Regions from separate parts of the Homo sapiens genome. Here all the other regions are linked to region 3. Evidence: promoter capture Hi-C in 16 types of primary human blood cells and fetal thymus (Javierre and others, 2016). All regions are on one chromosome and are shown on one strand. Each heading gives the region's core, a stretch centred on a gene start or on the middle of the fragment in contact. The rest is flanking DNA. Distances are from core to core; before and after follow the strand shown.

Region 1 (4,903 bases), core at 87-2,586, 900 kb before region 3:
ATCTTCACACTCATCAGATCAGATGGGCAATAATAAGAAATTGGTCAGGAAAACCTCATACACTGCTATTAAGAATATACATTTATAGAACAGTTTGGCACGATTTAATAAAGATGAATATATACATAACTTATGACCCAGCAATTCCATTCCTAATTATATACTCTAGAGTAGTGGTTTGTAACCTCTAGTACACAAATCCTGAAGGATAGAATTCAGAGTCTGATAACTTGGATAGGTAAAAGTTCCATCTTTATTGGCACCAACTTCTAAGCATTTCCTTTGTTTGTGAAGGTAGGCAACAAACCACAATATTATTAGCAGGACCTGCAACTTTTTAGTCAGTAAAAATCACAGATACTGTCAAATTCTATTTATAGTTGTTGCAAATACAGAAAATTTATTTTACCTTCATCACTACTTCAAAATTATTATACCTCTTACACCTACCATTAGATATTGTTATTTAATATCTTATAAAGAATAGGTCTATTTCTTTATCAAGAATTTGCTTTTAGCAGTCCTAAGCAAAAAGAACAAAGCTAGAGGCATCACACTACCAGCCTTCAAAATATACTATAAGCTATAGTAACCAAAACAACATGGTACTGGGATAGAAACAGAAACAGACCAATGGAACAGAATATATAACCCAGAAATTAATCCATACATCTACAGCCAACTGGTTTTTGACAAAGGTGCCAAGAACATACACTGGGGAAAAGACAGTCTCTTCAATAAATAGTGCCAGGAAAACTGGATATCAATATGCAGAAGAGTGAAACTAGACCCCCACCTCTCACTCTATACAAAAATTCAGTTCAATGGGTCAAAGAGCTAAGTGTAAGACCTGAAACTAAAAGTACTAGAAGAAAATATAAGGGAAATGCTTCCGGACATTGTCTGGGAAAAAGTTTTATGAATAAGATTTCAAAAGCACAGACAACAAAAGCAAAAATAGATTATGTCAAACTAAAAAGCTTCTGCACAGCAAATGAAAAAATCAACAGAGTGAAAAAACCACCTATAGAATGGGAAAAAATAATTGCAAACTATTCATCTGACAGGGATTCATATCCAGAATATACAAGAAACTCAAACATCTCACCAGCAATAAAAACCAAACAAATCAATTTAAGAATGGGCAAATGATCTGAACAGACATTTCTCCAAAGGAGACATACAAATAGCTCACAAATACATGAAAAATGTTCAACATCACTCATCATCAGGGAAGTGAGGTATTATCTCACCCCAGTTAGGCTATTATCAAAAAGTCAAAAAACAAAGCTGATGAGGATGCAGAGAAAAGGAAAATCGTATACACTGTTGGGAATGTAAACTCTTAGAACTACTATGGAGAACACTATGGAGTTTCCTCAAGAAACTACAAATAACCCACTACTGAGCATTATCCAAAGGAAAAGAAATCAGTATATCAGAAAGACATCTTCCCTCCCCCATGTTTATTGCAGCACTGTTCACAATAGCCAAGATACAGAATCAGCCTAGGTGTCCAGCAAGATTAATGGATAAAGAAAGTATGTTATATATACACAATGGAATACTATTCAGCAGTAAAAAGGAATGAAATCCTGTCCTTCACAGCAACATGGCTGGAACTGGTGGATATTATGTTAAGTGAAATATGCCAACAAGAGAAAGTTGCACACCACATGTTCTCATTAATGTATAAGCTTTAAAAAAAGTTGATTTCAGAAATAAAAAGTATAACAGGATTCTAGAGGATGGGAAAGATTAGGAGGAAGACAAGGATGGGAGAGATTTGTTAAACAAAATTATAGCTAGATAGGAGGAATAAGTTCTAGTGCTCTATACCACTTCAGGATAACTATAGTTAATAATATATAGTTTCAAATTGCTAGGAGGATATTGAATGTTCTCAACACAAATGATAAGCCCCCGGGGGAGTGGCTTCTGTGAGACCTAAATCCTCATCTGCCACAGAAGGAAGGCAACACATACTCTCCATAACTGAAAATGCAAGAAATAGCAGAAAATGACTATTATTTAAAAATACGGGCCAGGCGCAGTGGCTCGTGCCTGTAATCCCAGCACTTAGGGAGGCTGAGCCGAGAGGATCACCTGAGGTCAGGAGTTCAAGACCAGCCTGCCCAACATGGTGAAACGCCGTCTCTACTAAAAATAGAAAAATTAGCCAGGTGTCGTGGCGTGCGCCTGTAATTCCAGCTACTCAGGAGGCTGAGGCAGGAGAATCTCTTGAAACCGGGAGGCGGAGGTTGCAGTGAGCCAAGATCATGCCACTGCACCCCAGCCTGAGCGACAGAGCAAGACTCTGTCTCAAAAAAATAAAAAACATACGGAAACAGGTATTAGAAGAACAGCTTAAAATGTTGAAGGTGGTTAGTCTGGGGACCAGTACTCTGGGACTGGGAGGACTAGACCAGAGGTCGGCTGTTTTGCTCTTAAGGCTTACAGAACGATCTAGTTTCAAACTATCTATGTTTAACTTCGACTTTTTCCTATCAGGCTCGGTGCTGCTATTCCACTGAGCTCATGGAAAATTAAATCTTTATTAGGAGCCTTCCAAGATCACAGTGGGGTGGCAATGGGGACAGATAATGCAGAAAAGCGAAGGCTCACTGGTCTACAAATACACGTCTATCACAACCTGTAAAAGTTAACCCTGTCCCAGCCTGGCCAATATGGTGAAACTCCGTCTCTACTAAAAAATACAAAAATTAGCGGGGCGTGGTGGCGGGCGCCTGTAGTCCCAGCTACTGGGGAGGCTGAAGCAGGAGAATGGCGTGAACCCGGGAGGCGGAGCTTGCAGTGAGGCGACATCGCGCCAGTGCACTCCAGCCTGGGCGACAGAGCAAGACTACGTCTCAAACAAAGAAACAAGTTAACCCTGTCAACATCTCGACTTTAAATGCAAAGCACTGCACATGCACACGCTGAACACCTCCCCTTCCTTCTCCAGGGGCAACACAAGCACAACCGCCGCACATTTACGAATCTACACAACTGCGCATCGGAGCGAATGAGGTCAGGGCCCAGAAAGGTGGGGCAGGAACGATCCCAGCCTTCAGCTAATTCTGTCACCTCTAACGTCTGGGGCAAGAACGTTTCAGGAAACCAAGGGGGACCGAGGCTCAGCGCCGAAGAGAAAGACGCCAACTGCGGGACCTGTCGCGCCTCCCGCGCCGGGGTGGAGCTGACCCCGCCGAGTCCCGCCCCTGCCTGAGTTCGCCAGTGGTCCAGGAGCCGCTTTTTTCCACTCGGGAAGACTTCAGAGAAGTCTCACAAAGGACTCGGCTGGCTGCTTTTCTCAGTGCCGAAGCCGCGCCATGCTCGTTCTCAGAAGCGGCCTGACCAAGGCGCTTGCCTCACGGACGCTCGCGCCTCAGGTACTGGCCGCGGGGGCGCGCCCGAGCCCTGGCCGGAGGGGAGGGGAGGGGCGGGGGGTATTTCTGAAGCGTGCGAGCCACGCTCAGGCGCTCCCAGACCTGGGGCCCCGCGCCGCCGCCGAAGTTCTAACGCGGTCTCTGGAGCCGTCTGGCGCGCAAGGAGGAGGCTACAGGCCGGGGTCGTCTCGCTGGCAGTCGCTGTCAGAGGGGTTTTCTAACTGGATGCCAGTGTTTTTGTGATTTTTGTTTTTGTTTTTGAGACGGAGTCTCGCTCTGTCGCCCAGGCTGGAGTGCAGTGGCGTAGTCTCGGCTCAGTGCAACCTCCGCCTCCCGGGTTCAAGCGATTCTCCTGCCTCATCCTCCGGAGTAGGTGGAATTACAGGCGCCAGCCACCACGCCCGGCTAATTTTTTTTGTGTTTACTATTTAGTAGAGTCGGGGGTTTCACCATGTTGGTCAGGCTGGTCTCGAACTCCTGACCTCGTGATCCGCCCACCTTGGCCTCCCAAAGTGCTGGATTGCAGGCATGAGCCACTGTGCCCAGCCTGATGCCAGCTGTTTCTAGCCTAAATGCCACAACTCCCGGGACACCCCCGTGGCGCCAGCTGTTGCGTTTTTTTAGGATAACATCTCCAGATACAAATCTCCGAAAATCAACTTTAAAAGCAGTTATTAGAAATACCTCATTGGCCCATTTTCCGAGATAATAATATTTTTAAACTGTAGATACTAAGCAGTTTTTTATTTTCAGAATTTGATTAAACTGACCCAAAAAGAATGGCCATCAAAAGAAAGGATAGTTGCAGGTATTTTTTGGTATGAAGAAGGGTTTTCTAAGAAAACTAAGACACTTGGGCAATAAGGGCATAACTCATACTGGAGATGAATGAACTCAAGATAGACAATTATAATTAAGACGTTATGCACACAAACTACATAGACATTTGCATGTTGTAACCAAAAATATGTCAGTGAAAGATGCCTACTGAAACTGTTGCGATAGATTATTCTGGGTAGTGAGCCTCAGGAAATTGTCACATGCTAACCATGCCTAAATGAATGGATTTGTAAACTAGAATGCCACGGGAGTGGTCTGTGTATACACGTGTGTTTACATAAATATTTGCATGTACGTACATACAGACAGACTGGATAATTTCTGACAGGGCATTTGCTACTGAACATTAAGCTCACTCAGGCTCAGAGGGCCAGATTAGGACAGAAAATTTACCCATTGGGCATATGACTATTACAAAGGGTGGTTCTTAAAGGATAGTTCCATAAACTTGGTATAATTGAGTGCACTAAATGTACATACTTCTTGATATTGCATCTGTAATTAGAAACAATGATGGAGACAATTCTCATTTGTTGAGTTTTTTTCCTTTTCAGCCTTTATGCAGTATACACCCATAGTACAATGCAATTGGATAAGTTATAGCTTCCTTTTATATTAGTTACATTCCAGTCCTGTTTTTGACCGGTAGTCTTCATCAGTAGATTCAGGAAATA
Region 2 (4,831 bases), core at 66-2,565, 800 kb before region 3:
AGACGGATCACCTGAGGTCAGGAGTTCAAGACCAGTCTGGCCAACCAACATGGTGAAACCCCGTCTCTACTAAAAATACAACAATTAGCCAGGTGTGGTGGTGCATGCCTGTAATCCCAGCTACTCAGGAGGCTGAAGCAGAGAATCACTTGAACCTGGGAGGCAGAGGTTGTAGTGAGCTGAGATCACGCCACTGCACTCCAGCCTGGGTGACAGAGCGAGACTCCAACTCAAAAAAAAAAAAAAAAAAAGAATACTGACAACGGAGGGCCTTTGTTGATGTCATCTTCTGCCTCTGCCCAATCATGCTTTGTTCCCTTTCCTTTCCTTACACAAGTATTGATCCCAAGAATTTTTCAATAAATGTCTTGTATGCTCAAAAAAAAGAATACTGAAAATACAGAAACTCCAAGGACCATCCAAGGACCATCTCCATGCTTAGGATGCCCCTTATTTTAAACTGATTAGATGTGACAGATATGAAATTGGCAGGGGGCAATGGAAATTATGCTAAATGCAACTACTTTCAAAAGCCTGATGCCTTTGGCCCATCTCCTAACCACACAATTGGTAAACACAAGGCATATTTTCCTAGTTTCAGAAGGGCACGCAGTAAGCACATTTTTCTAATTTTAAAAATTCTAGATCATGTGAAGCAAAAAGCTTATTTTCAAGAATAAACATTTCCACTACTTCTGCTTCTTGTAAAGACAAGCTAGTATGCAGACACGAGATAGGGGAGGAAGCAGTTCCCCTTTCTGCCAGAGAATAAGCTCAAAAAGTGTCTCTGAAAAATCAATAACCATGCAAGCTGGGTCTGGTGCTACCCACTGCACAAGAGCTGTCTAATAATGATGCCAGAGGAAGTTTTCTATGATTCTAAAGTTAAAATTCAACATAAACACTAATATTATTTCCTGATTTTATAAAATTCTTTTTTTTTTTTTTTTTTTGAGATGGAGTCTCACTCTGTCAGCCAGGCTGGAGTGCAATGGCGTGATATTGGCTCACTGCAACCTCCGCCTCCCAGGTTCAAACGATTCTCCTGTCTCAGCCTCACGAGTAGCTGGGACTACAGGAGCATGCCACCACGCTGAGCTAATTTTCATATTTTTAGTAGAGACAGGCTTTGCCATGTTGGCCAGGATGGTCTCGAACTCCTGACCTCAAGTGATTTTCCCGCCTTGGCCTCCCAAAGTGCTGGGATTATAGACGTGGGATTACAGACCTTTGAAGTGATCTCGTCCATCCCACCTGAGCTTTGTGACACTAGTCCGTTCATTTCTGTTTCCCCAGTGCCATCTCACAGAGCTAAAATTGGAGAGATTTAAAGCCTTATTCCCACAAGCTGCAGGGACTGATCTCCTATTTAATGCAAAGCAAGCAACAGTTCTCAACTCAGTGCCACTGCGTCCAGCCCTTATTTTATAAAATTCTTAAAAGTCTCCAAATACACCCTTGTCTAAAGTCTCCTGTCCTCAATTTTTTAGACAGAGCTCCTCCAGATCAATAACCCTTAACCACGGTTATTGCCTCAGAACTGTGAATATTTTTTAAGTTTAACTCAACTTAAAATGTATCCCTTGTAGGAGGAAATCATCACAAATGCCAAGTGATAAGCCAGAAATCAATTTTATTTTAACCAGCTGGCCCATGACGCCAGGTTGCATATTCCACTCCTGGATGGTTTGGCAATTCCTGCCTGAATAGGGAAGTAAAATTAAGTGAAGTTGTATTCAAACTACCTCCCTCCCCTTCACCACCATTACAAGGACAAGGGTTTATTCATTTCTTTCCAGTAGCTGCACAACGTAATTGCCATCAGCCCTACTGAGGAAGCTGGAGGCATCAGCTTACCTTGTGGAGAATGACATCAGCCCTCAGCATCTTGTCCACAGTAGACTTTGGGAGAGAGAGGTTGTGATACAGGAACCCAGAGAAGGTTTCATTGTCCACCAGGAAATCTTGAAGCTTCAAGTCTATTGAGAAATAGTGTTTTATTTTTATTTAGTAAGTAACTCAAAAAAAAAAAAAAAGTGGGCACAATGGGACAGTGGAGAAACGTTATCATAATATTGATGATCAACAGTTGCCTGGCTAAACACACACAGGAATGAGATAGGGGAGCATCGCCATATCAGGAGAGGCATGAAAATATTGCTTTCTGGTAACATGTTGAGCCACACTCAGCATGTGCTCCTCAACTCAAACAGTGTGATGGTGCTGTTACACACACACACACACACACACACACATACACACACACACAGCCTTTCCTTTTCTTTTTTTTTTTTTATTTTGAGACGGAGTCTCACCCTGTCACCTAGGTTGGAGTGCAATGGTGGAATCTCAGCTCACTGCAACCCCCGCCTCCCGGGTTCAAGAGATTCTCCTGCCTCAGCCTCCCGAGTAGCTGGGATTACAGGTATGCATCACCATGACTGGCAAATTTTTTTTTTTTTATCTTTAGTACAGACAGGGTTTCACCATGATAGGCAGGCTGGTCTCAAACTCCTGACCTTGTGATCCAACCTGCCTTGGCCTCCCAAAGTGCTGACAGTACAGGCGTGAGCCACCATGCCCGGTCTTTCTCTTCTAAATGATCTCACCCACCCCACCTGAGCTTTGTGGCACTAGTCCGTTCATTCCTGTCTCCCCACTGCCTTTTCACAGAGCTAAAATTGGAGAGATTTAAAGCTTTATTCCCACAAGCTGCAGAGACTAATCTCCTGTTTAATGCAAAACAAGCAATGGTTCTCAAACTTAAGTATGCATCAGAATCACCTGGAGAGCTTGTTAAAATGCAGACTGCCGGGCCGGGCCGGGCCGGGCCGGGCCGGGCCGGGCCGGGCCGGGCCGGGCCGGGCCGGGCCGGGCCGGCCCCCACCCCCACCCCCACCCCCACCCCCACCCCCACCCCCACCCCCACCCCCAGAGTTTCTGATACAGCGGCCCTGGGATGCGACTGGAGAATCACTTACAGGTGATGCTGATGCTGCTGACCTGGGGACCATGTTTTGACAAACACTGGCAGAGTGCATTACGCATATCAAAGTGCCTTCACAGACATGGTCTCATTTTCATTCCAAACATAAAACATGTGATACAAAGCTCCAAAACCCAGGTCTGCCAGGCTTTAGGAAAACACATTAACATATATTTAAACCATCAGCCCTATTAAATGATTTGATTGCTAAAGGATTTCATACGGAATCTCCCTAAATAATAGGCCCTCTGAGTACAGTTAGAAAAGGCTTCAATCCAGTGCAACAAAACAGAAAAAGCAGCACTAAGAATCCAGAATTTTAGTTTCTAGAGTTGGAGGCTGTGTCTGGTGGCGTCCCTGCGTACCTCATGTCATCTTTCTGAACCTCAATTTCTTGATCTCCAAAATGAGAGGTTTCTGACCAGATGCTTGGTAGGAGCCCTATGACTCCGAAACAGTATAGTTTTCCCTGACTCATCTCATTTGGCTGTCTACCTCTTCTCCTTCCAACCCACTCTCCTAACAGCCTAACTTCTTTGTAATAAAGATAAAACCAGCTCATCAGGACCACATGAACTGAGCCCACATGGCCAGGCACTAAGCAACCTCTAGAGGGCAAACTTTGCAAACTGAAATCATTTACCAGAAGAGAAACAGGTTTGATCTGAAAATGGGGCTACAGTGTGAGGCTTAATGAGGACAGGAGTTAATCCGCGGAGCTAAGAGGGTCACATGCAGAGATAAAGTAACAGGAGGGCCTGACAGCCCAGCCAGTCTCTCATAAATGCTGTATGATCCAGGTGTATTCTGCTTTAGGCAAACTTCAGTAATATTGAGTTATATAGACAGAATAAATTGAGCAAGATTTACATCGCTAGAGAAATGATTCACTGCTACCCCTCTATGGCTAGCTCCTAGTTATTCCTCATGACAGCCAGTAGCTGTTCTTAGGCCCAGTTAGTGTCCCTCAGAATCAGTGCTCCTGCAAACTGCTACCTACCTGATGCTTCCCATCACATGTGACTCTACACTGTTAGCATTAGGCTCTCTACTGCAGTTGTCAAACCTCAGAGCACCTAAGCTTCATTTAGGGAGCATGCGAAAATGCAGTTTCTTGGGCCCAGTCCCCAGAGATTCTGAAATAGTGGGTCTAGAGTGCAGAGCCTACAAATCTACATTTGAATAAGCATCCCTTACACTTTTAATGTTGGGGGAGGGAGGTGTGGAACCACAGTTTAAGGAACATTGTTTTACTTGCATGTTGTCTCTACCAGACTATGCCTATAGGATAGGGAATATGCGTTCTTAGTACCACCAATGCCCAGATCAGGCCTGGCACAGAATTACTGCCCAGTGAAGGGTAGCTGAATACTAAACACTAGGAGATGGGATTAGGGCTGACAAGGTTCCAAAAGTATCTGAGTACCATCATAGGAGATTTCCTTTTAGCTGGCCAGGTCCAGGAAGAGCCCAGGGATGTCAGGACCATCCCCAGGCCACACCCCAGGAGTGAACAGGACTTCTAACCACTGGAACTGCCTTCCCAGGAACAGAAAGCGACATCCGGGGTCACTTTCTGTTCTTGGGAGAAACAGGAAGGAAGGTGTAAGCTGGTGTCTTCAGTTGAGGACTGGTGTGAAAAGGTAGACATTAATCACTGTACAACCATGGAAAAAGCACCACCCTGGGAGTCAGAAACCTGGGTTCTAAATCCATTTATTTGTCGAGTCATTTCATGTAGTTGTGCCTCCACTGCCTTATCTATAAAATGAAGGGTCAAAAAAGGCCTCTGTGAAACCTCAACAGAAACAGAATACACGTATTAGCTAACCCTCACTGACTAGG
Region 3 (4,349 bases), core at 8-2,507:
TGCCTGGGGCTAGACTTGGGCTTGTTTGCCAGTGCCTCCCAAGTGTTCCTATTAGCACATGTTAATCCAAGCCACTTGAAAAAAGGGACTCTTGCCTCTAAGAGTGAAAAATGCCTGCATAATGCTCGGCAGTATGTGATGATAAACCACTCTCCTAGACTTGGAAAGGTCATCCAATGCAGCCCCAAAGAGGCCCAAGTATCTTCTACAGAATCCACGCCAAATCACCACTCCCACCTGCCCCTTGTCTTTTCATTTTTGCGAGACTAAATACCCCCACTTCTGTTCTTCATACACCAGGGTTTCAAGACCCTTCATCATTCTGTTCCTGCTCCTCTAAATATAGTCCAGTCTGGATATTTTAGTTCTTACAGAGAGGGGCTGAATCCTCCAGGTGAGGTCTGCCAGCTAACAAGAGAGCTGTATTGTCTTCTCTATTCCAAATTTTATTTTATTAACGAAACCTACAATCATTTTCTTTTTTTACTTCATTCTGATAATACATTGTTGATTCATATTCAACTCTCTGTTGGTGGCCGGGCATCGTGACTCACGCTTGCAATCCCAGCACTTTGGGAGGCCGAGGCGGGTGGATCACCTGAGATCAGGAGTTTAAGACCAGGCTGGCCAACATGGTGAAACCCCATCTCTACTAAAAATATAAAAACTAGCCAGGCGTGGTGGCAGGCGCCTATAGTCCCAGCTACTCCGGAGACTGAGGCAGGAGAATCGCTCAAACCCGGGAGCTGGAGGTTGCAGTGAGCTGAGATGGTGCCATGGCACTCCAGTCTGGGTGACAGAGTGAGACTCCATCTCAAAAAAAGAAAAAAACAAAAAACAAAAAACAAACTTTCTATTGGCCAAACATATGTTGCATTTATACATAAACTCAATCAATATTGTACCTGATTCTGAACAATTAGGAAGAGTTGGTTATAAAGGAAGAAACAGGAGTATTGGGACAAAGCAATCTTTCAACTGGAGGCTTCAAAACAGCCAGAGAGAAAAAGCTGAAGGGTGTTGTTCTTACCTTCCCCTGTTGTTTTTAAGTTAAAAAAAGAAATTATGCATAATTCATAGCGTCACTGATGCCTCGAAAGGTGAGAGGCATATGTTTGTGTCCCTGTGGGGTTGTTTTCTTTTTTAAAAACCTGAAAATGAGGAAATGAATCTCGTAAGCTCTGAGTCGAGAAAATCTAACATCTCAGGTTCTTGGCAGGACATGTGATACCAATCAGGCCTCTTATAAGATATTGGCCCTGAGGGCCCTTTCTCTTTCCATCTCAGGAACTCAAACATGACCAGGAAGATCTTCACAAATACCAGGGAGCGGTGGAGGCAGCAGAATGTCAACAGCGCCTTTGCCAAGCTGAGGAAGCTCATCCCCACTCACCCTCCAGACAAAAAGCTGAGCAAAAATGAAACGCTTCGCCTGGCAATGAGGTATATCAACTTCTTGGTCAAGGTCTTGGGGGAGCAAAGCCTGCAACAAACGGGAGTGGCTGCTCAGGGGAACATTCTGGGGCTCTTCCCTCAAGGACCCCACCTGCCAGGCCTGGAGGACAGAACTCTGCTTGAGAACTACCAGGTTCCTTCACCTGGTCCAAGCCACCACATTCCTTAGTGTGGCTCTGGCTGTCATCTCCCAGGGCAGCACTTGCCCAGAAATCACTGCCTGTGGACAGACTTTTGCATGTTCCAGAGTTGACCTGATGATAACTCGTGAAGCATGAATTCTAGCTTCCTGGGAGGTGGCTCAGAGACAGCTGCAGGGAGCTGAAAGAAGCCATGAGGAATGTCACTTGTGGGCCGCCACCCCCCAGGGATGTCAGGTAGAGCGGCCTACCTCTGCCTATTTTAAATCCAGGTTCTGCATAAGACTTTTGGAGAAAAAATTCTAAATAAAAAAAAAAAAAGGCTGAAAATCACTGTTTATACTCAATGTCTTCAGTTATAAGAAAGAAGTTTTCTCATAATGGATCTCAGATGAATAAGTAGAATATGCTTCCTTCAGAACATATTTTAAAGTTTGTTTTGAAAAATGAGATTTGATCAAGGGTGAACAAAATAAATCTTAAGATTGATGGGCCGGGCACGGTGGCTCACGCCTGTAATCCCAGCACTTTGGGAGGCTGAGATGGGCAGATCACCTGAGGTCAGGAGTTTGAGACCAGCCTGGCCAACATGGTGAAACTCCGTCTCTACTACAAATACAAAAATGAGCCAGGTGTGGTAGTGCGCACCTGTAATCCCAGATACTCAGGAGGCTGAGGCACGAGAATCGCTTGAACCCGGGAGGGGGAGGTTGCAGTGACCCAAGATCATGCCACTGCACTCCAGCCTGGGCAACGGAGCAAGACTCGCTCTCAAAAACAACAATAACAAAAAAAGTTTTCTCATAATGGATCTCAGATGAATGAGTAGCAGCATATGCTTCCCTCAGAACAGATTTTAAAGATGGTTTTGAAAAATGAGATGCATTTGATCAAAGGTGAACAAAATAAATCTTAAGATTGATGAATAGAAAGATAACCCCTGCAGAAACCAACCTGGGAGACTTGCGGGAAAAATCTGTGGAGAAAAGACACCCCCCGCCCCCCGCCCACTAAGGTGTGGGGATTACAGGAATGCAGCAGAGATATGTGGAACAGTTCTGTGTCCTTTCAACTCTGTAGAAGTGTGAGGTGCTACTTGTGCTGAGCCATTTGTACATATGTGACTTCTAAAGGCAAATAGTGGATTATATCTGTGAGACGAAACAACTGGATAATTTATGTGTTAGGGCTCGTAGTTTTCTTACGAAAAACAGTTAGCTGAAATAAGTTAGCTAAAGCCTTCACTTCACATGTCATGCATTAAAACGTTTCACTCAGCCTGAACTCCTGCTGATTCAAGACCTGTAAAATTCAATTATAATTATGAAAATCCAAACATTACCATTTAATGACTCATTTAACAGAGAGCTTAGTTTAAACAAAACATTTAGAGTAAACAATAGAAATGTAATACCAGACGCTAATGAACTAATGAATTTGTAATTTGTCTTCTTTGCTATGGCACATTAGCCTTCTCAAAAAGAAAAAAGTTTCTCATAATAGATCTCAGATGAATGAGTAGCATATGCTTCCCTCAGAACAGATTTTAAAGTTGGTTTTGAAAAATGAGATGTATTTGATCAAGGGTGATCAAGCTTAGTCTTAGGCTTGGAGGCCTGGTACCCAACAAGTCAGTGAAATAGCACGGATCTGGCAGAATCCATCACCATATGCCACCCTGATGATACTTGGAGTCAAAGATAAATCCTATAGTTGAACCTGGAATACAAATAATGTTATTTGATTATCTCTGGGACATTTTCCTTCCCCAAAGTTCTTGACAGTACATTGGTTTTAAAACCTTCTAAACCATACGTAGGAAACTGATGGATTTGAGATTAGGGATTTCCAGTATATACACAACAGAGGAATTTAAATTTCCTGCCACTCAGAAATAAGGTGTTTTACTTGTGAAAGGTTGAAATGAGCCTCCTTGGTCTGGTGATTGGAAGAAAGCTGGATGAAACTCTTACAATCTCATTCTCCCGAAATAGAAAGGTCATTATGTCATTAAATTCTATACAGCATTCACACTTGTAACACAATGCATTTATTTGAACCAGTAAGATTTCCTTCTAGGCCCTTTATTTAAACTGTATTTGGTAAACTTCCCCACGGACCCAGCATAGTCCAGGGAAACACATAAGAAAAGAGATCAAAATGGTTTTCCTGAATGTGCATTTTTTTTTTTCTCACTAGCTTATGTGGACACAAGCTTACCCCCAAATTACCAGGTGATAGTACATTTCAAAGTTTTGATGACAGTTGTCAATTAACATCACTTACTCTCTCATCTGAAATTAAATCAAAATAACACTTTTGACGGTATTTTTATATTAGCTTTGTTTCAACATGTTGCCAAGGAAAGCACAGAGTATCTCTTTGCCTAGATATAGGATTTTGCCCCTCTACCCAGGATGAGTCCACTTTTCTGCTGCTGGGGCCATGATCTGTGTCAAAGGGGGCCATGATCTTCGACAAAGAGGGCCTTTCCGCTGAAATGTAACAGAGTGCTCCTGAAAAGTCATGAGGAGATCAAGTTCTCATTAAACTATGTGAGGGGGAAATTATTTAAAGAAATTTGCAAATAATCCTATAATTAATAAATGAAACTTTAAATCATTAATTTATGTATTTCACCTCCTAAATGATTTCTTTTGCCTGCTTGCATTTTTGTACACCAAGTCATGTTTGGTTAAAGTGACTGTTACGTCAGGTGTGTTGGCATGTGCCTGTACTCCCAGCTACTCGGGA

The links. The method cuts DNA at HindIII sites, captures the fragments that hold promoters and counts their contacts. A CHiCAGO score of 5 or more calls a contact.
Region 1: a contact is called between a fragment that was not itself captured here and the fragment with the promoter of TAL2 in region 3, in 1 of 17 cell types (total B cells). The highest score is 5.3, in total B cells.
Region 2: a contact is called between a fragment that was not itself captured here and the fragment with the promoter of TAL2 in region 3, in 1 of 17 cell types (total B cells). The highest score is 8.1, in total B cells.

What each region holds. Positions count from the first base shown.
Region 1 is chr9:104,760,909-104,765,811 of GRCh38, forward strand. It overlaps NIPSNAP3B (nipsnap homolog 3B), which reads left to right and starts at 3,221. Exons shown (of 6, transcript NM_018376.4): 1 at 3,221-3,392. The coding sequence starts at 3,333. RefSeq lists silencers at 2,950-3,149, 3,347-3,536. The HindIII fragment of the contact is 717 bases long and covers 979-1,695 here.
Region 2 is chr9:104,859,822-104,864,652 of GRCh38, forward strand. It overlaps ABCA1 (ATP binding cassette subfamily A member 1), which reads right to left. Exons shown (of 50, transcript NM_005502.4): 6 at 1,858-1,979. Among named protein-coding and RNA genes, the nearest start is that of ABCA1, 66 kb to the right of the region's middle. The HindIII fragment of the contact is 1,308 bases long and covers 662-1,969 here.
Region 3 is chr9:105,661,200-105,665,548 of GRCh38, forward strand. It overlaps TAL2 (TAL bHLH transcription factor 2), which reads left to right and starts at 1,258. Exons shown (of 1, transcript NM_005421.3): 1 at 1,258-1,925. The coding sequence starts at 1,298. The coding sequence ends at 1,624. RefSeq lists an enhancer at 1,285-1,374. The HindIII fragment of the contact is 4,889 bases long and covers 1-3,188 here.